4 separate regions of the Homo sapiens genome follow, and regions 1, 2 and 4 are each linked to region 3. Evidence: promoter capture Hi-C in 16 types of primary human blood cells and fetal thymus (Javierre and others, 2016). All regions are on one chromosome and are shown on one strand. Each heading gives the region's core, a stretch centred on a gene start or on the middle of the fragment in contact. The rest is flanking DNA. Distances are from core to core; before and after follow the strand shown.

The links. Contacts are between HindIII fragments. The CHiCAGO score rates a contact against its expected background, and 5 or more counts as called.
Region 1: a contact is called between a fragment that was not itself captured here and the fragment with the promoter of COL23A1 in region 3, in 6 of 17 cell types (M2 macrophages, M1 macrophages, M0 macrophages and 3 more). The highest score is 10.7, in M2 macrophages.
Region 2: a fragment that was not itself captured here is called in contact with the fragment with the promoter of COL23A1 in region 3 in 1 of 17 cell types (M2 macrophages); the score reaches 5.9 in M2 macrophages.
Region 4: a fragment that was not itself captured here is called in contact with the fragment with the promoter of COL23A1 in region 3 in 1 of 17 cell types (M2 macrophages); the score reaches 7.0 in M2 macrophages.

What each region holds. Positions count from the first base shown.
Region 1 is chr5:178,453,175-178,457,969 of GRCh38, forward strand. All of the region lies in intron 2 of COL23A1 (collagen type XXIII alpha 1 chain), which reads right to left. The region is part of intron 1 of LOC124901148 (a long non-coding RNA gene); the gene reads right to left. Among named protein-coding and RNA genes, the nearest start is that of COL23A1, 130 kb to the right of the region's middle. The HindIII fragment of the contact is 870 bases long and covers 2,276-3,145 here.
Region 2 is chr5:178,436,935-178,441,758 of GRCh38, forward strand. The region is part of intron 2 of COL23A1 (collagen type XXIII alpha 1 chain); the gene reads right to left. It overlaps LOC124901148 (a long non-coding RNA gene), which reads right to left. Exons shown (of 2, transcript XR_007059080.1): 2 at 1,704-4,824. Among named protein-coding and RNA genes, the nearest start is that of COL23A1, 150 kb to the right of the region's middle. RefSeq lists an enhancer at 206-709. The HindIII fragment of the contact is 5,204 bases long and covers 341-4,824 here.
Region 3 is chr5:178,586,811-178,592,107 of GRCh38, forward strand. COL23A1 (collagen type XXIII alpha 1 chain) reads right to left here and starts at 3,583. Exons shown (of 29, transcript NM_173465.4): 1 at 3,094-3,583. The coding sequence starts at 3,387. RefSeq lists an enhancer at 2,029-2,929 and a silencer at 3,585-3,784. The HindIII fragment of the contact is 4,652 bases long and covers 295-4,946 here.
Region 4 is chr5:178,838,925-178,843,569 of GRCh38, forward strand. It overlaps the pseudogene LOC100129457. Among named protein-coding and RNA genes, the nearest start is that of ZNF354B, 19 kb to the right of the region's middle. RefSeq lists a silencer at 444-738. The HindIII fragment of the contact is 2,533 bases long and covers 1,964-4,496 here.

The sequences.
Region 1 (4,795 bases), core at 1,461-3,960, 130 kb before region 3:
TTGTGTGTTGTAAAAAAGGAGAACAAGAGACACACACACAACATTATCTCTGGAGGGACACTGCATGAAACCAAAGCTCTAGTGTTCAGTGGGGAAGAGAACAGGACATCTGGAAACCAGCATACACAGTGCAGCCTACTCTAGCCCCGTGAAGAGATGACCTGGGGGTATCATGTTCTTCCAGCTATTAGAAGAAAGAGCATGATGGAGCACCCTTTCTTCTTGTCTCACTAGCCACTCACTTTCTGAGTCATTCCCGTGCCTGTGGTGCTGTTGTAAGGGCTGGGAGGAGACTGGCCATGCGGGTTTGGAATTTCCCTCAATTCTGTTAACTGCAGGATTCATCCTGAAGCACCCACGCTTCAGCTGACCAAGGAATCTACCCCTTAATTTAAAAGTTTGCACTTTCACAGACTTCCAAAGTACAGAGCTAGGAGGGTTCTTAAGATTGGCCCACAGTAGACTTCTGTGGATTCAATTCATTGGTTCCTTCAGTCAACCAGCTCTCCACAATGCAGATGAGGGCAAAGATGAGGATGCTCTTCTCCCCATTCCACAGACAGGTGAAACGACTCGTTCACAGTCACACACTTTTTCAGTAGCAGTAGCAGACGAGGAATTCAAACCCAGGCAGTCTGTCTCACTTCTCACCACGATTCCATACTGACTCTCAAAACCTACTCCATGCCATGCCTGTGCCAGACCAGAGATATTAACATAAAAGAAAAAAATAGTTCCTAGTTTTTCAGGGCCTTTGGTCTAGGAGCAGGGGTATAGATATTGTGGCCAAAGTTTGTAAGATAAAACCATTTTATAGAAAAAGTTTAAATATCACACTCTTAAAAAAAAGAGACGTATTTATTTTTGTCTTTGCAAGCCCTCTGTCCGTCTTCATACGGTGGAGCACAGAAACAATTACACAGAAACACAACATATGGACAGTTAAGCAACAGCCCTGAAAAGTGATCACAGATGAAGTTAAAAGGGCTGTTTTCTAAAATACCCTGCCCACCCACCCTCAATCTTACCTCAAGGACCAGGTTAACAAAGCCAGGCGATGTTTGAGAATTGCTGACATGAAATGAAAAAGCTCATAGAGTACTTCATTCAAACGTTTTGAAATTTAAAAGCCTATGAAAAGCAACTCAGATCAAAAAGTGAACAAATGGTCACTTTCTCTATGGTTATCAAATAGTGCAGATAACCTAGGCCTGCAGGCTGCGTGCTGTCAGCTAAAAACATGCCTCCAGGAACAGGATGTGCATTGCTCTCCAGTGAGGTGATGCCAGGTGGGTGGGGGCAGGCCTGGCTTGGCTTGGGGTGACCAGAAAGGAGGAAAAGCCTGCAGTCTCCTGGCAAGGCATTTAACATCTGTGGGCCTCAGTTGCCTCGCCTGTGAAATGGGCATAATCACAACCTTTGGGCAGAATTATGAGACTCAGAAGAGCAGGCTCCCAGCAGTGACTCCCGGGATTCCCTTCCCTATCTCCCAACACACAAGATAACCACAGGCCCCTGGAGACCACATCCTCACTCCTGTGCAACCAGGAAGGCCTGCCAGAGTGGCTGAAGAGTGAATTCCACGCCGGTGTGCAGGCGTGTTCATTAATCCTTTATTGCGTGTATTAGTTTCCCGTGGCTGTTAAAAAATACCACAAATGGTGTGGGTTAAACGGCAGGAACTCATTCTCTCTCAGTTCTGGAGGCTGGAAGCCGGAGTCAAGGTGTCGGCTGGGCCTGCTCCCTCTGAGCCCCTGGCTAGGACTGCTCCATCCCCTTCCCGGCCTGTGGAGGCGCCTGCCATCCTTGGTGTCCTTGGCCAGCAGCTGGGCCGCTCCTCTCTGCTTCTCCCCATGCACGTGACGTGCACACAACGGTGGCCACGCAGTCTTGTCAGGTTGGATTAAGGACCTGCTCCCCTCCAGTCTGACTTCATTTAACTCATTACATCTGCAAAAGACCCTATTTCCAAATAAGGTCACATTCAGAGGAACTCCTGCAATCTTTCCGGGGGGGACACAGTTCAACCCGTACCACTGAGCAGTCGCTGACTGGGTCACCGATGAAGGCGTGAAAAGTCACGCACGGGCCTGCCCGTGGGCCCGCCCTAAACCTTTCCAACCCGTTTGGGAGGAGTCCTGGTGCAGAGTGACAGCTGGGGGCCAGGCCACAGGCACCAGCATGGGAGGGCTGCCCGCCTGACCCTGGCATCGGCTGACACAGCAGGGTGGAACCCCAGGGGGGCTGCAGCCAGGGCAAGTCACTCAACTAAGTAAGCTTAGGTCCTCCTGTGTAAAGAGAGTAATAACAACACCTGGCCACCTGCATGAATAAGGCAGCTCTCAGGCCACAGAACCCCAGAATCTCAGCCTGGGAAGCACCATCCACCCAGCTGACCAAGCGAGAATCACGGGAGTCCCCCTGCATCAGCCTCCACATCCAGGCATGACACCGGCCCTCCCTGGCATCTCCGCCATCGCTTCTGTGTGTTTCCTCTCTGCCACGCGGACGGACCGCACCTCAAGGCCGAGAGCTGGCACCTATCCCCTGCCCACCCATCCCACCAGGCTCCACGAGGAGGTCAGAGCGGAGGACCAGCCCTCTACAGTGGCCCTATGTCTGACACTGGCTCCCTCAGCTCGCCCGCCCATCAGGAGGAAGCCAGACTCCACCTAAGGCCATTCCAATCAATAGACCACCGAGATGGTTTAACTTAATGAATAATTCTCAGGTGTATTTCGAAGAATAAACAGGCAAGAGTAGCTAAGACAATTTTTTGAAAAGGAAAAATAACAAGAAAGGGACTTGAGTTGTTAAGGTGGATTACATAACCACATGAATTGAAACAAATGGGCACTTGGTGCAGATTTTGAAAAGACTCTCATATACCAAACAATTTCGGGTACAATAGGAGAGAAACACAGATTGTTCTGCAGATGGTGTTAGAACAACCAGTTATATGGAAGATCCTCAAGTCATATCCTTCCCTCAACCTTGCCACCATAATAAGTTACAGATTTTCAAAGAGTTATACGTAAAAATAAATGAAGTCTTCTATACTTCCCTAGGCTTCTATAATTCCATGGCAAACATGGATTACTTTTGTAGTGAGGGAATAAACAATAAAAATGGAAAAAATAAATGAAGCTTTATATTAAACCAGAAGGAAATACAGCGAAACATGTAACCGATATCAGATGGGACTGGACAATGAGAGAAACAGTCAAAAAACTCGAGAGTTTGGCCGGGCATGGTGGCTCACGCCTGTAATCCCAGCACTTTGAGAGGCTGAGCTGGGCGGATCACCTGAGGTCGGGAGTTCGAGACCAGCCTGACCAACATGCAGAAAGCCCGTCTCTACTAAAAATACAAAATTAGCTGGGCGTGGTGGCGAATGCCTGTAATCCCAGCTACTCAGGAGGCTGAGGCAGGAGAATTGCTTGAACCCGGGAGGTGGAGGTTGCGGTGAGCCGAGATCGCACCATTGCACTCCAGCCTGGGCAACAAGAGCGAAACTCCATCTCAAAATAAACAAACTCCAGAGTTTAAAGTTTTAAAATTGTACTAGAAAAAAAAATGATAAAAACTGAAAGGCAAGTGACAAAGTGAGAAAAATTTTTGCAACAAACGTAACGAAGGATTGTTTTTCTTAAGATAGTAAAAATGTCTTGCAAATCAGTAAGAAAAGCAAGAAAATTCCCTGATTTCCCCTCCACAGACAATTCAAAATGGAACTATAACCGTCCAACAAGCCTATGGCTGATAATGTAAACATGCAGAGATAAAACAACACACCCTGTTTTGGGTTTGTTTGGTAAAGAACCATTCATTACTATTACAGTTAATGAAAAATGTTAATCATGGTGCAGGGATACAGGCCCTTCCATGCACACCTTGTTCCAAAAAAGGTGTGGGCCACGTGTCTGAGGCACTTAAACACATCTACTCTCTTTCACTATCTCACTTCAGTCTAAGAGTCTGGACTAAAAGATTGAACAGAAATAAAAGTCAAAGGTGAAGATGTTTATCACATCATTCTTTTTTTCTTTTTTCTTTTGAGACAGAGTTTCACTCTGTCGCCCAGGCTGGAGTGCAGTGGCACAATCTCGGCTCACTGCAGCCCCTGCCTCCCAGGTTCAAGCAATTCTCCTGCCTCAGCCTCCCGAGTAGCTGGGACTACAAGTGCCCGCCACCACGCCCGGCTAATTTTTTGTATTTTTAGTAGAGACGGGGTTTTGCCATGTTGGCCAGGCTGGTTTCGAACCCCTGACCTCAAGTGATCCGCCCATCTCGGCCTCCCAAAGTGCTAGGATTACAGGCACGAACCACTACGCCCGGCCACAGAGTTCTTTATAATAGCAAAAATTTCAATGTAATCTTAATGTTCAAAAGTAGAAAAAAATTTTACTTCAAATATGGAATATTATGCCCCCATTAAAAAGGTTTTCCTTAATAACAAAAAGAAGTGCCCAAACAAAACCAAAAGCCACTTAAATTGCGTTTGGTAACACAATTTCACAGATTGTTGGAGGCAGTGCTGTGATTATCATCCTCAGACTGCTGCATGTGTATCATGGAATAAAGCAAGTGAGTTAGGTGCTGCTGCTGAGAGGCAGGATTTTCAGCCAGAGTAAAAGATCATGTTAAGTAAAACTAGGTAGCCTTGAATTTAAACTGAAAACAGCAGCATGCACTTAAGATGCATTTTATCTTAAAAACAAATAGGCAAACGTTTTCTAGTTCTGTGCTGAAAAGGCCTAATAACTAATGAGTTTCAATGGGTATCCACAGCACC
Region 2 (4,824 bases), core at 1,693-4,192, 150 kb before region 3:
TTGACAGAACGCATTCAGAGCCTCATCTCTCGAATTGCTTGTTTCCTGGTGATCCCCCTCCCTAAGATCACAAGGCTGTGTAGAACAGGGATTTGAACCTGGGACTGTCTATTGCCAAGTCATATATTCTTAATACCCTGCCCTCCACCTCAGTGGAGTATAATCTTGTTCTTTTATCTAATTCCTGGTGGGAGCAAGCCTCGGCCAGGAGGTCATTCAGCTGGGAGTGAGCCACACTCCTGTTCCTGCCCTTCACCTCATCTGGTGATTAAAAGAGAAAAACATACAATACACAGCCCACAGGGGTCCTGGGCTCCAGGATCTGGTTCCAGAAACAGAAAGCTTACTTTACTGGCTGTCACAGAAATCTCGCTGTGACCCTAAAGTAATTTCCCCAACCTCTGGCTCTTTAGGACCTACCTGGGATGAAACAGGGTGCCAGGAGAGGTTGCAGGAGCAGAACTGAGCCGGGTCCAGGGAGCAGGAGGTCGCCAGGATCTGGTCCACTTCTATGGAATCCCCAAGCCCAGCAGGAGCCTCCCATGCCACAGTTGCCAGTGGATGAGTGGATGTGTGGTGGGGAGGAGGGTAGAAGGCTGTATGAGCTGGGCCCCAGCCGCTATCTGCCCAGCAAGGCATGTGGCCTGCCCAGGGGTCAGTCCAGCCTCTGAGCATATGGCCCTGGTCCCACTGAGTTCTCAGGGCCCAGGCCCTGAGGGTACCCACTGTCCCACCTGGATCACACAGTCATGGCCCCGTACTCCCCTACTTCCCTGCTGCTCACCTGGCCCCTCTGTGGCCAGACCTACGTCTCCATCAGTCCCAGGGCCAGCTCCTTCCCAATGTTCATCAGCCAAGATGCGGGAGTCAAGAAGCAAACCCAGTCCTGGAGGGTGCTTGTGGGACGGGACCCAGGACCCCAACCAGCAAGGGGCCTGGGGGGAGGTGGGATGTGGGGTCAGCCTCGGCTGGGCTGAGCTGCTCATGCCTGGTCTGAGTGCCCACCATGGGCTCAGAGGCCCCTGACCACCACAGTGATTAAACTTGAGGTTTAGGCAGGGCTGCTGCTTAGGCCTCAAAAAAATCTCAGCTAATGTGTCTTAATTCCCTGGAAGAGGACCTGGGGCCAAAGATGTGCAGGGGCACAGCTCCTCTGTGGCACCTGTCCCCATCCTCAGATCCTCTGCTGTGGTCCAAACCAAAGAATTAAGGGATTAAGTGTGAAGAACACAGACAGCACCTAGAGAACTGAAGACACCAGGGCACTTGGTAACACAGTCCAACTTTACAATATCAAGCTGAAAGCACAGCTCTGGCCCCTCCTCAAGTTACTGCTTTAAGAGTTAAAAGATACTTGGGTTACATGAGCAAGAATGCCAAACACCTGGAGGGGGAAAAAAAGGTATGTAGGAGCTATCATATTGTTTATTTAAATTTACTATCTGAAAATATCTGGGCAAGAAAAGTAAACATAAGTGAGCTTTCCAGCCAGATCTGGGGTCCTGGTGAAATAAACCGCTTTACCTGTAGGAACGCAGTTCATCCCTGTATCTGACTGGTGTTTATGTATCATATGCTATGGAGACCACAGAGCAGGCAACACACAGCTAACATGCTGGTTCCTTACCCAAAAATACCTTGAAATTCCTCTGTATCTGCATTTGTAAATATTTTATGTAAACCAGATGGGTTTACAGAACACGTGCAGTGGAATCTGGTTTTATTTTTTAGCAACATGTACTATAAAATGCTTCAGAAAAATAATCTGTACATTGAGAAGGAAAAAAAAAAGATTTCTGGGTCTACTTATAAAGAGCGAGAGAATCAAGAACACTCTTTTAGGAAATGCTAGCATTAGAAGCATCTGCTCAGAACTGACTCTTGGGTCCAAACAAGTTGCCTTCAAGCAGCAGTCCCCAAACGTGGCTGCGCGTTATAATCACCCGGGGAAAGGTTACAACTCCTAGTGCACAGGCTTCCCCCTGTCCCAACTGCACCAAAAGCTCTGGGTGGGACTCAGCACTTTAGTAGTTTGTAAAACTCCCCTGGAGCTCCCAGTGTGCACCTGCGCCTGAGAGCTTGACTCAGCCCAGTGTGCATTCAAATCACCTGGGAGCTTGAACCTCTCCATGCCCAGGCTGTGCGCAGATCAGTTACATCAGGACCCAGCCAGCAGATTTTAAAGTTTTCCAGGTGATTCAAAAGGGCAGCCAGGACTGGGAGCCACTCCCCTTACAGGATGTGGGAACCTTCTGAAGGGATGTGACTGCTGATCTGGCCATGCATGATGCATGGACAGGCAAGAGCCAGAGGCCCCGGCACCATCATCGCAGTCCAGATGGAAGTCTTGCTCCCAAGTCACCTCCATCTTTTCTCTCTCAGCCACTTGCTGATTGAGGCTGAGCCAGTTACCAAAGTCTCTGTGGCTCCTGCTCCTTCCATGCCAGACCCTGTTGAACACATCCCTGGACTCCAGCTCCTTGTCTCTGGTCCACCCAGAGCCGGAGCTTTAGCCTAGGACCCAGACTTCTCCCTCCTGCCTCTTCCTTTCCCTCTCAGTGACCCTCACCCGGCAGCTGGAGGAATCTTCTGAAGAGCAAGTCTCATCACATCTCTCCTCTGCTCAAATCCTCCAGCAGATGTGAAGACACGAGATAAGCTGCTGGTGGGAACACGCCACGGTGCAGCTGCTTCAGAAGTCAGCGAGGCAGTTTCTTAAAGAGTTAAACATACGTTCACCATGCAGTGCAGCAACTCCGCTCCTAGGATCTCCCCGGGAGAAATGAAAACATACGTCCATACAACTCAGATGCAAATGCTCATAGAAGCGTTCTTCAAAATAGCCCCAAACTGGAAACAATCCAAGCATCCATCATCTGGCAAATGGAGAAACTACAGTGTAGCCAATCAATGGAATACCACTACATGCTACAACATGGATGAGCCCCAGAAATGCGACGCTGAGTGACAGAAGCCAGACACAAAGGACTGGATTGTAGGAGTCCATGTGTACACGGTTTCTAGAAAGGACAAATCTGCAGAGACAGAAAACAGATCAGTGGTTGCCTGGGGCTGGGGGAAGGAACGGGGATTGACGGACATGGGCACCAGGGCGCTTTTTGGGGTGATGGAGATGTTCTAAAACTGGATGGTGGTTGGACAACTCCATACATTTACTAAAAATCATGGCCCTGTCCACTTACAATAGGTGAATTTTATGGTATATTTCAAATAAAGCTGTTAAAAAAACAAACCACTTCCTATGGCTCACACAGGAGAGAGTACAGCATCTTGCTGGACACCCAATGTGCTCCACCATCTGCAGATTTGCCTTTCCGGGACCAACTCCCCAGGACCCAAGCCCCGTGGAACTCTCTCCAGGCTCATGACCCCCTCTGGAATTCACCTCATAACCACCGCCAGCTTCTCCACCGCAAGCTCCATCTCATCCTTCAACACTCTGGGCAAATGCCGCTTCCTCTGGAAGTCTGCACCACCGCTAGGATAATGCTTAGCAAAAATCAATCTCTCTCATTAGAGCAGTGCTTTAAAAACTCACACTAATGGGTTGTGAAATCAACTGTGCTCTAACCAGTATTTTAAAAAATGAAATACAATAGAAAAGAGAATGCGGTGTATACAGTAAGTACCTTATTTCATGAGATGACTGTTTTCATCTTTCTTTTTTTTTTTTTTCTGAGATGGAGTTTCACTCTTGTTGCCCAGACTGGAGTGCAGTGGTGAGATCTCGGCTCACTGTAACCTCTGCCTCCCAGGTTCAAGCGATTCTCTTGCCTCAGCTTCCTGAGCAGCTAAGATTACAGGTGCCCGCCACCATGCCCAGCTAATTTTTTATATTTTTAGTAGAGATGGGGCTTCATGATGTTGGCCAGGCCGGTCTCGGACTCCTGACCTCAGGTGATCCACCCTACTTGGCCTCCCAAAAAGTAGGGATTACATGCATGAGCCACCATGCCCGGCCTACTGTTTCATCTTTCTATGTGTGTATTATCTCTATGTGTACTGAATTCTGGGTTGCATATTTCTTAGAGTGGCTTGAGGTTTAGAAAGTTACGAAACAGATTTCAACTAGACAAGGCACTCCTTGAGGGCAGGGGCTGTGCTCTGTTTCTCTCTGTATCCTTGTGGTCAGCATGGGGCTTGGGACCCAGAAATTACCCAATAAGACGTCTACTCTGTGAGAGTGGCTTTGCAAGCATGTTGATTAAAGGCCCTTTGTGTCGTATTTTTTTCCCTCTCACACAACATGCAAACATTCTTTAAAAAGCTGTTTGTTGGCTGACAGACCACACCCTACAGTTAAGACTGGCAGCAAAGCTCTGCAAGAAGTTCAATGACTGCTGTAAATCTCACTTATAAAACTAATACATACACGTGCATTTTTTAGAGTGAAGATATATAGCCTAAAAATACTAATAAAATAATAATTCAAATCTAAAACTCCACATGGGACAGGCTGCGTAATTTGCAAAATCAAAGTGTGGGACCCTGTTCACACACTATTGAGAATTTTAGAGGGCAACTGCAGAGCCGGAAACCAAATTCAAGGCCTCTCGGTACAGGCGCACAGGGGCTTGCTGATGAAGCTGACCCCAAATTATAAAGACAGAGATGGGGGGATGCGGGGCTAGAGTTTCAAAGGGCTGCCTTAATGGTTCTTAAGATCCCATTTCACCCTGATGTTTGGAGAAAGACAAACACAAACATGCTTTTGAAACAAACAAAATAGTCAAGGAACCCCTAACAGACGACACGGGGTGACGACGCGGGGTGATGACGCGGGGTGGGCAGAATCAGCATTTG
Region 3 (5,297 bases), core at 2,333-4,832:
CCTGACAAGTAGACAAACCACCAAAGAGGCTGAAAAATCTCCATTTGACTCTGGGTTGACAGTATTTAACCAATATACAGAGTTGATAAGAGAAAAGGAAAATGCGTAAACTTTACTCGAGTCTCTGGGCTTTTCTTGTTTTCAAACTGATTGGTCTGGACAATGGAAGGCCAACAGCCAACAATAAATCCATTGTAAGCTGGCATGGTCTCCTCTGAATACAACTAAATATTTCTTTAATCCTTGCATTACATTTTTTACTGTATTATGAAAGCCATGTATTCTAAAGTTTTAAGCTTTTATAACATTGTAACTATAGGTATAAGATGGGGGGATTGATTACTTAGGCAACCTATTTAAAGCACTTTAAGAGGAAAATATTAGATTTTTTTGCATGAATATTTTCACATCATAGTGAAGATACGATCGTTCATGGCTCTTACTCAGAAATCTTGTTTATCTCTTCCTTTGTGTGCCATGGGAAGGGTCTTTAATGATCATGAGTTGACATGAATATTCCTTTCTTGTAGCTTCTGTATCTTCATTATCGGGCACATCAGCCGGTCCCAGAAAAAGTTATTTCACAGTTCTGTTCCCAAGGGAACAAAGAGAGTGGGTCCCATATTCACAGTGGCTTTTGTTGGCTTCTTTCCCCCTGACATTAAAGCCATGTATGGTTGGCAAGGATGTCTTTTCTTTAATGTGGACATGGTTTCTGCCTCTGGTTCTCTGGAAACAAGTTTGCTGTAGGACAAGCTGCCCGCACACTCACATACACGGAAAAGAGGCTTCACTGAGAACAAATCAGAACTGAAAAACAGCTTCAAGTACAAATGTTCTTTTCTTCCGAGATTTTGAGTTCAATATTTATTTGGCTTTCATATCTAATGGCTTGAAAAAGTATCTATACATCTAATTAGAGTTAATTACTCACTCCCTGTATGTGCCTCCCACAGTGCTCTCCTCCCAGCCAAGGAACTCATTGTTACCGGCCAGGCTGTGTACATTTCCCATCCAGTGACATTTACAAGAAGAATAGCTCCTAGCAGAAACAGGCTGGTACCCTAAGAGAGAGAAGCTGTCTCACAGGGGCCACCCAAACAACCAGAAGTTCAGCCCCAACTGCATTCATACTGCACCATCTCTGACTCTCCACTGGCGGGAAAACCCAGCCAGCTTACACTCCACGCACAGCATGCGCCTCAGATACCCAGCTGGGATTAGCGAGCAGGACCACGTGTGAATGGCACGGCAAATTCTCCAGAATACAGGGTTCCCTGGATTCTAAATTTTTCTCTTGCCTTTCTAATCAAGAACAGAGAGAGAGAGAGAACACACACCCTGTCCAATAACTCATTGTTCAAGCACTGTAGTTCACCCAGGTAAAATTCAGTGCAGCCGGGAGGGGGGAAGCCTGGGAGAGCAACTGCAGTCTCTCCCGCTGAAGTTCAGGACTCAAAAATCAACACTTCCCAGCAGTGGCTGCCTGCCCAGGATGCCCCTCCCTCCTAAAATAGACACAATTTGTAGTTCCTTGTAAAATGGTTGTATCAGGACTTCTGATTTACTCAATCAGGGCTTGCGGTTTATTTTTAGCAAATAAGAGAGGCCTCCTATGAGAAAGAGCAGCCACACTTATAGCGCTAACAGGTAGAAACTTTACTGGCCCTCTATAAATCAATTCAACACCCTGGTCTCCAGGCATTTGCCAAAAGCTAATGGGCGGCAATTATGAAACCATCGCCAGGAGTTTCCAGCAGGGCTGAGAGAGAGTTTTAAGTCTGCAGGCCCTTTCAAGGGTAAAATAGGAAATCATTTCATGAAGCAGCAATTTTACCCAGAACCCAGCTAGAAGAGATGTGATCCTAGCTTAAATTAAAGTGACTAAGAAACAGGTGGGGTGAACAAGGAGGTGTGGTACGCAAGTCATCTTCTCCCACTTTCCTTTGGAATCCAAAGGAACTCAACATTGGAAACACAGCTGGATACGTTAATAAAGATCCCAGCTGGGCAGTCTAGGGAATTGGGGGTGTACAGGCCAGTGCTCCCTCTCCTCCACCTTGAAACCCTGCCTGTTTTCACACAGCAATTGAGGATGCGCCCTTGGACAGCGACCTTGGGGTCTGGAGCAGCCATCTATCCCAGGAGAAGGAGGAAGGCTCGGCAGGGGAGGCTCTGGCCAGCCCACCAGGGCCTGTCCAGTTTCGTGGGGAGGGGAACTGCCGCACATGCCGCACACAAAAGGCGGAGGCTTTGACCAACATGCTGGGTGAGGGCTTGGAGGACCCAAAGGTGGCTCTTTCTTTGAAGACACACAGCAGCAATCTTAACCCTTAGAAGTGTCACAGAGCCTCATATGAGCTTTCAAGTAAGCTGTGGAAGTCGCGATTCCCAGGTAAGGGACGGGAAACTCCGGATGTCCTGCGAGCCCACACCCCAGATGGCACCGCCTGAAACCAGAATCCAGGTCCTCCACCCCCGATTGTTTCTCCTTCCTCTCATCTTACCAAGTCATGTGGGCGCCCCCACCCCCATCCCCGAGGCCTCAGTGCGACGGTGACCGCTCAGTCTTGGGGCCTGAGCTGCTGGAGACACACTGGAGCACAGCGGGGCCCAGCCCTCGGGCCTGTCTGAGGCTTTCCTCCGCCGTGACCACCGCCTCTCCAGGTGTACCAGCGTTGGTTAGGAACAGTAGGTGCTACTGGTCACAGTCACCAGATACTTCCCACGAGCCTCATCTTTATCCCCGACTCTGGCCGCCGGCGGGAAGCGGCGTGTCCGAGCGCACACCCCGTGGAGACTGACCCTAGGTCTGTTACTCCAAAGTCCCTGGTCTCTCCTTCCCCTTTCTCGCGGCCGCCTGCCTGGCACGGGACCCTGAGGCCGGAGCGGAGACCGCAAAACCCCTTGGGGCCGGCACCCCCTGCCTCCGCCTTGGCGCAGACGTGCCCATCTCTGGGACGGCCCCGAGCGCACGCAGCCGGCGGGCGACCCTCCTCCCAGAGACCTGCACGCTGCCCCCGGCTCCCAGCGTACCGCCACCCTCAACCCGACACACCCAAGTCCGCCCCAGCCACGCGCCAAGACGCTCACCTCCCGCAGCAGGCGCTCCAGGTGCGGCTCGGCCCAGGCGTCCAGGGCGCCTGGCGGCCCCGCGCGCCGCAGCAGCTCCCGCTCCTCCTCGAGCGCCGCCACCCGGCCCTGCAGCGCGGCCGCCTGGACACCCAGCAGCAGGCAGGCAGCCGCCGAGCCCACGGAGAGCAGCAGGCACAGCGCGCTCACCGCCCGGGACCCGGCCGTCGTCGCCGAGCGCCCTCCGCCGCCGCCGCCCGCCGCATTGCCCTTCCCCGCGTCGCCGCCGCCACCGGCGCGCTCGCCTGGGCCCATGGCGCGTTCGTCGCGCGTGGACTCTCCGAGGGGGCGGTGCTGCTGGGGCAGAGGCTGGGTGCGAGAGGAGCAGGCGGGACAGCCCGAGGCACGAGGTCCGCCGGGCGCGGGGGTTAGCCTCCGGGTAGCAGCGGATCGCCGCGCACGCCCCCTTCGCCGCAGCCAGCTCCTCCACAGCGGCCACTTTGGGCAGTTTCCTCTATGCAAATAGACCCTGCCAGAAAAGGAGCAGGGACCCACCCAGGGGAGGAGCGGCCGGGCTGGCCCCGCGCGGCGAGGGGGCGGGGGCGAGGAAGGAGCGAGCTCCTCGGAGCCACCCGTCGGCGCCGGGCTGATCCCACGCGCAGCGCGCACCTCTGCCCTCACCTAGCCCGGGCGCCGGCACCCGCCCCCGCACGCACCTCTGAGGCTTCCCCAGCCCAAGCCCGCACTGTGGACCCCAGAGGTCGGAGGGGAGCCCGGCGACACCGCGCCCCTTCTGCAGCCCACCCCTGGCTGGAGCACCCACCACTCGTGCCTTAGCACATTCCTCTAAACTTGTGAATTACCTTTCTGACACTTGTAAAAGTTCAAAACTTCAAATCCTGCAAAAAACTGAGTGGGTCTGTCCTCGGTGGTGGATTAGCGCCGCTTCGTGGCGGAAAGCGACCTCTGCGCACTCACATTTAGAGAGGCAGGGTCGAGATTGCGCCAAACAGAAATACGCCCCTTAGAATCTTCTCACGAGTTCTTAGCTGCCGGACTTCGGTGCGGGAAACAAAAATGGTAAGACTGTTTCTGGCCTGGAGAGGGCTTTTGAGAAAACTGAGACTATAACGAATGGGAAAGATTCAGAAAATGAACTTCAAGTCTTGTTCAACTGATGACTTAATTCTGTATTAGACGCACAACTTGGCCAAAAATTATGATCTAGTATGCACCACACTTAACCTGTACTGCGATTCTGCTGCAAATTTAAATCACAGGGCTGAGGCAAGAAGGCTGTGGCGTACAGCCTGGGTCCAGAGAACAGAATGAGTGGCACTAACAAGTCTTGGCAGGAAAGGGAAGAACTGCTGGAAGTCAGGCTGGGTTCAGATTCCTACCAGGCATATTCATGTCCTAAATGGGTCCCAAGTAACTCTTTCGCTAACTCCTGTAATACCTAAATGAAACAACAAACCAGCAGTTCAGATCTTTGTGATTTGAGTAACCCCCCAACCATTTTTTTTTAAGAAAAATAACGTTATATCCATCTTCCCTCTCACTCTGGATATCTTCTGGTTGTCTCATTTCTGTGGATACTCACCTTTTAGAACTGTTGAGTGCCTCTGGCTAACATGTTCCATCTCCTTCCCTTAATTCAGAGGGGAACCCCTGAGATGGCCGGGGGTTATGGTTGATAGACTTGGCTCTGTGCTAAAGTCTGGTGTATGCCCAATAGAATGAAAAGTTGGCCTCATTCTGAAAAGAGGCCAACACCCTCTTACAAGTCAGCACTACATTTCTTACAGGCACATAAACTGCACACCACCTACCTATGTTAATGTTACTGCATGTATTGTTTGCCATGTTCCTGAAGCTTCTGTGTATTGAAAAAGCCAAGCTCACTGGCCCCTGGGCCTCTGCCCTTGCCTACCACCTCACTACCTGCATTCCTGCTCTCAGATCGTTAAACGGCAAGCCCCTCCTCATCCTCCAGGTCAAGGTCCTCAACCTCACTGCTTCTAAAAGATCTTCCCAGACTGCCCAATTTAAGGTGGCCCACAAGATTAATCAGGGAATTGGGGCGGCTGAATTAAGATGGAAATACTGTCTGCAACTCATTCTAAAAGGCGAAAAAGAAAATGACTTACTTGTGTCCATTAGGGTCCTGGAAGAATAGATGGCATCCTCAGAGAGGGTGACTCAAGACAGCCTGAATGTAGAGC
Region 4 (4,645 bases), core at 1,980-4,479, 250 kb after region 3:
GGGCCTGGTGGAGAACGGGGCTCAGAGGGGCCTGGCTGGAGTCCGGTCCAGGACGTTCTTTGTCAAGAGAGCGAGTTAACCGGGCCCTGGGAGCCTCCATTTTCCCTTGCATATCTGTGAGGAGCAAGAGATGACGTGATCCAGGAGCCTCCCGGCTCCACATCCCACAGACGCCCTTTCTGATAAAGGAGCCGGGCGGGCACCGCGACTGCGCCCACTGGAGGCCCTGAAGTAGCAAGGCTCCTGGAGCGCGTCCTGCGCTGGAGTCCTGGAGGATGCCACAGATCTGGAGGGGGTGGTGGGGTCCTGTCCCAGACTCGCCTTAAACGCTGCGAGGACAACGACCCCCCCAGCCCGCCTCCACCCTCCAGCCTGCCTCAGGCAGGAGGCGCAGTAGTCCCCTCTGCAAGCTGCAGATTCCCCACCCTGGCTCCAACTGACCATAGTTGAAATCGAGCTGGAGGCGACAACAACATCCTAGAAACCTGAGTCCCCGCCTCAGGGTATTGATGCCCTTTACTGATTGTAAAGCCAGTGTGGAACTCTGCAGCCTTGGCTCAGAAACGCAGCTGCTGAGTGTCCTGGAGCAGGTGCGACCAGAGGACATTGGCAGGGGAGCAGTGCCTCCTGGTGGTCAGTGCATGCTGGCCTCAGTGACGGGAGAACCTTAAGGCTGGTGACATTCAGTACCCAAGCAGGCAAATCACAGAGGTGGCTGGGGGTGTGCAGGGCTAATGGGCAAACTAGAGCAATGGAATAATGTCTTTCCTCTCAGATAGGGAAACGTTTTAAAAATAGATAATGCTCAGGGCTGGCGGGGGCACACGGAAACTGGCACTGCCATACACTGCCAGAGGAGAAAGGAAAGTGGGTGCTGGCCCTGGGAGAGGTTTCTTGGTTTGTTTTGTTTTGTTTTTGAGGGGTAGTTTGTTTTTTTGCAGAGGCAGGGTCTCACTATGTTGCTTAGGTTGGTCTCGAACTCCTATCCTCAAGTAATCCTCGAGCCTTGAGTTCCCAAAGTGCTGGGTTACAGGCATGAGCCACCAGGCCCGGTCCCTGAGAGCCTTTGGGAACTAGGAATCAAAAGTCTTTCTCTGGGGTGGGGCAGGGGGTGCGGTGTACGTGTGCAGGGGTTTCGAAACTTTGTGGCTTGGCCGTGGATCTCATGGCGTGAGAGTCTCACCTCAGTTTCATGGGCGAGATTGGCCCTTGTGGAGTTTGAGTCCAACCCAGAAGAAACAAGGAAGCCTGGGTCTTCTCCAAGTGTTGCAGCAAGCTGGCCTGGGGTCCCCCCAAAGGTAGCCAGAGACAAGCCCAGGATCACCCAGTCTGCAGCAGGGTGCAAAGGTTTGGGGGTCCCCCACAAAGGCAGCCAGAGCCAAGCCCAGGGTCCCCCGAGCATCAGCAAGATCTACACCTGGAGTCACCTCAAAGACAGCCAGAGTCTAGCTCCAAATCCCCACAATGTCAGCCAAAGCCAAGTGAGGAGGCACCACGGTGTTCTCAGGGCCAGGGAGAACCAGCCTCCGAGTGGGCCCAGAGTCCAGAGGAGCTGACTCGGGGGGTGGGGGTGGCATGAGCACCTATACCCGGGCCCAGGATCACCAGAGCCTTACCCCAGTCAGCAGGTGCCGAGTTCAGAGCCGTCACGGCCAGTACGGGAGCTGACACCCAAGGCACCTGGCTCCCTGCTGGGGTCAGCAGGAGCCAAGCAAGCTGCCTCTAGCTGGGGAGAGGTAACAGGCGGCCATGGGGCAAAGAAGGAAAAAGGTTCTTCAGTCCAGGCTCCAGTATCCAAGAAGTCGAAGGAGGAGGAGGAGGAGTTTCCTATAATCCAGAAGGGGAAGCCCACATTGCGGGAGGATGTGGAAGGACTACTGCAAGAAAAAGTTATCCCAGATGGTTCAGGACAAGCCCCTGCACACATCCTGGCAGTGGAAGATGAAGGAACAGCAGGAAAGGAAGCTTGCCAAGGATTCTGCCCCTAACCTGGAGGAGGAGAAGGAAAGGCACTGCCAGGAGAAGAAACAGCGCTGGGCCCAAGAACCTGAAACATCACCTATAGAACGAGTGGAAGGCAGAGATTGTCCAAGTGATCCAAAGCCCCACCAAGCTCAAGCTGGTGAGGACACAGCAGCTGTGCTCCACTGAGAAGCGGGACACCCTGCCCCTGCTGCAGAAGCAGCCATCCCAGCAGCCAGCAGGCAAGGTCTGAGCTCAGGACGGCCCCGAGGCCCTCTATGGCCAGCAACCATGTCAGACACAGCACCTCAAGCCACTGGCCAGATGCCTCTGCTGGAGTCAGCACTCCAAACCTATGGCTGCAAAATGGTGACCCCCACCCTGGCCAGGGCTCCTGGGCCTTTGACGTCTTTTAGGCTGGTCTGTGTGGGACAGAGGCCCAGGGGGGTCTGGGATCTGGCAGAGATGGGGGTGAGAAGAGATTCAGCCCCCTCCCTTCTTCCTCTCCTTCTCCAAGTGCCTTCAGACCAAGAACAGTATATTCTTCGGTTCCTCAGTGAGCTGGCGACTAGCAGGTGACTCCCACAGATGTTGTATGTCCTGTCTCAGGGTCCTAGGTCCAACCCAGGCCCAAAGGCTGGCAGTCAGGAATCCAGCTTCCCCTACACTTTCCCAAAGGCTGCTCTGAGCACCTCTGCGCCCCACTGGCTCTGTCTTCGAGCAAACTGAATCCACCTCCTCCCCACTTTTCAACACTGAAAGATGAAAATGGGGAGATTGCAGGGAGCAGTTTCTCCCTAGCACCCTCTTGCCCAAACCAGACTCCTCAGAAGCATCAAAGATCTAACTCATGTCTACCCAGTCTACAAAGAAAATATTTATTGAGTGTCTGTTGCATACAGGTACAATTCGAGTCACCAGGGAATACAGACAATAGACCAAAGTCCCTCCCCTCAATGAGCTTTCATTCTGATGGAGAGAAAACATAGTAAACAAGCAAAATGTGTCATGTGTCAAAAAAAAAAGTCTTTCTCCAAATGCATACACTTCGATCTAGCTATTCCACTTGTAGGAATTTATTTGTAAGACTGTATAAAGTATATACAGAGTCTTATAGTATAAGGTGTAGATCTTGCTGATGCTGGGGGGACCCTGGGCTTGGCTCTGGCTGCCTTTGTGGGGGACCCCCAAACCTTTGCACCCTGCTGCAGACTGGGTGATCCTGGGCGTGACTCTGGTTGCCTTTTGGGGGACCCCAGGCCAGCTTGCTGCAGCACTTGGAGGAGACCCAGGGTTCCTTGTTCTGGGTTGGACTCGAACTCCACAAGGGCCAATCTCATCCGTGAAACTAAGGAGGCTCTCAGGCCATGAGATCCATGGCCAAGCCACAAAGTTTCCAAACCCCTGCACACGTACACTGCCACCCCCCAACCCCAGAAAAAGACTTGTGATTCTGTATAAAGTGTAAAAAGGAGTAGTAAAAAAGAATTAAACAGAAACATTCGTTATCGTAGCAAAATTAAGAAAATACGCAACTGTTTAAACACATTAAGATCCTTATTCAAGTAGTAAAACGACTATTTTGTCATTGAAATGGCTTTACAAAATATTGGTAAATTAAGTAAAATGAGGGTTTGAAATAATATGTGCACTCTGTGTCGTAGGCCAGGTGATCCAGAGCAGGCAGTGGAGGGCCTGAGGCGTACAAGGGACCCTACTAGGGATAAACCCATGAAAAAAGCAAGCAGAAACAGGCTTGGGCAGAAGTCAAAACCGTTGCAGGCTCAGCAAAACCTCTGCCAGCCAGCCAGGATGCCAGAACAAGCATCGCCCCCTCAGAGTTGGCTGGGCCAAGAAGAGATGGCCAGATCTTTATACCCAGGCCTCAGGCACCTGAGGGGGCTCCCCAGGGAAGGCCCTGAACGCTGGGGGTGCTCTCTTTGGCTCAGGCATACCCTGAAGCAGCCAGCCAGGCTCTAAACAAACTCCCACAACTGGACAGCAAGTCCTCCCCAAGGAGGGTCCAGGCAGCACATCTATGCATCTACCACATTCTGCTGGTACTAGTAGTAGTAATTTTCAGAAAATAAATTGTGTCTATCTATACAATAATAATAAGCATATGGAATCCATAGGTGTAAATATTTATAAGATAATTAGAAATGTAAGAAAATGGTTGGAGTAAATAAATATTTAAATTCCTGGGATAGGCTGGGCGCGGTGGCTCACGCCTGTAATCCCAGCACTTTGGGAGGCCAAGGTGAGTGGATCACGAGGTCAGGAGTTTGAGAACAGCCTGGCCAACATAGTGAAACTCCTTCTCTCCTAAAAAAAAATACAAAAAAATAGCCAGGCGTGTTGGCAGGAGCCTGTAATCCCACCCACTCGGGAGGCTGAGGCAGGAGAATCACTTGAATCCAGGAGGCGGAGGTTAACAATTGGTTGAGTTTGTCTAAAGACCTGGGATCAAACAGAAAGAAATGTCTGGGTTAAGATGAGAGGTTGTGGAGACCAAAGGTTTACCATGCAGATGAAGCTTTCAGCTAGCAGGCTTCAGAGAGAATAGGTTGCAAAATATTTCTTACCAGACTTAATGTCTGTGTTGATGTTAATGCTGGAGGGGTGTAGAGGCATGTCTGACTCCCACTCCCCAAGATGGCCTGAACCAGTCTCTCAGGTTACA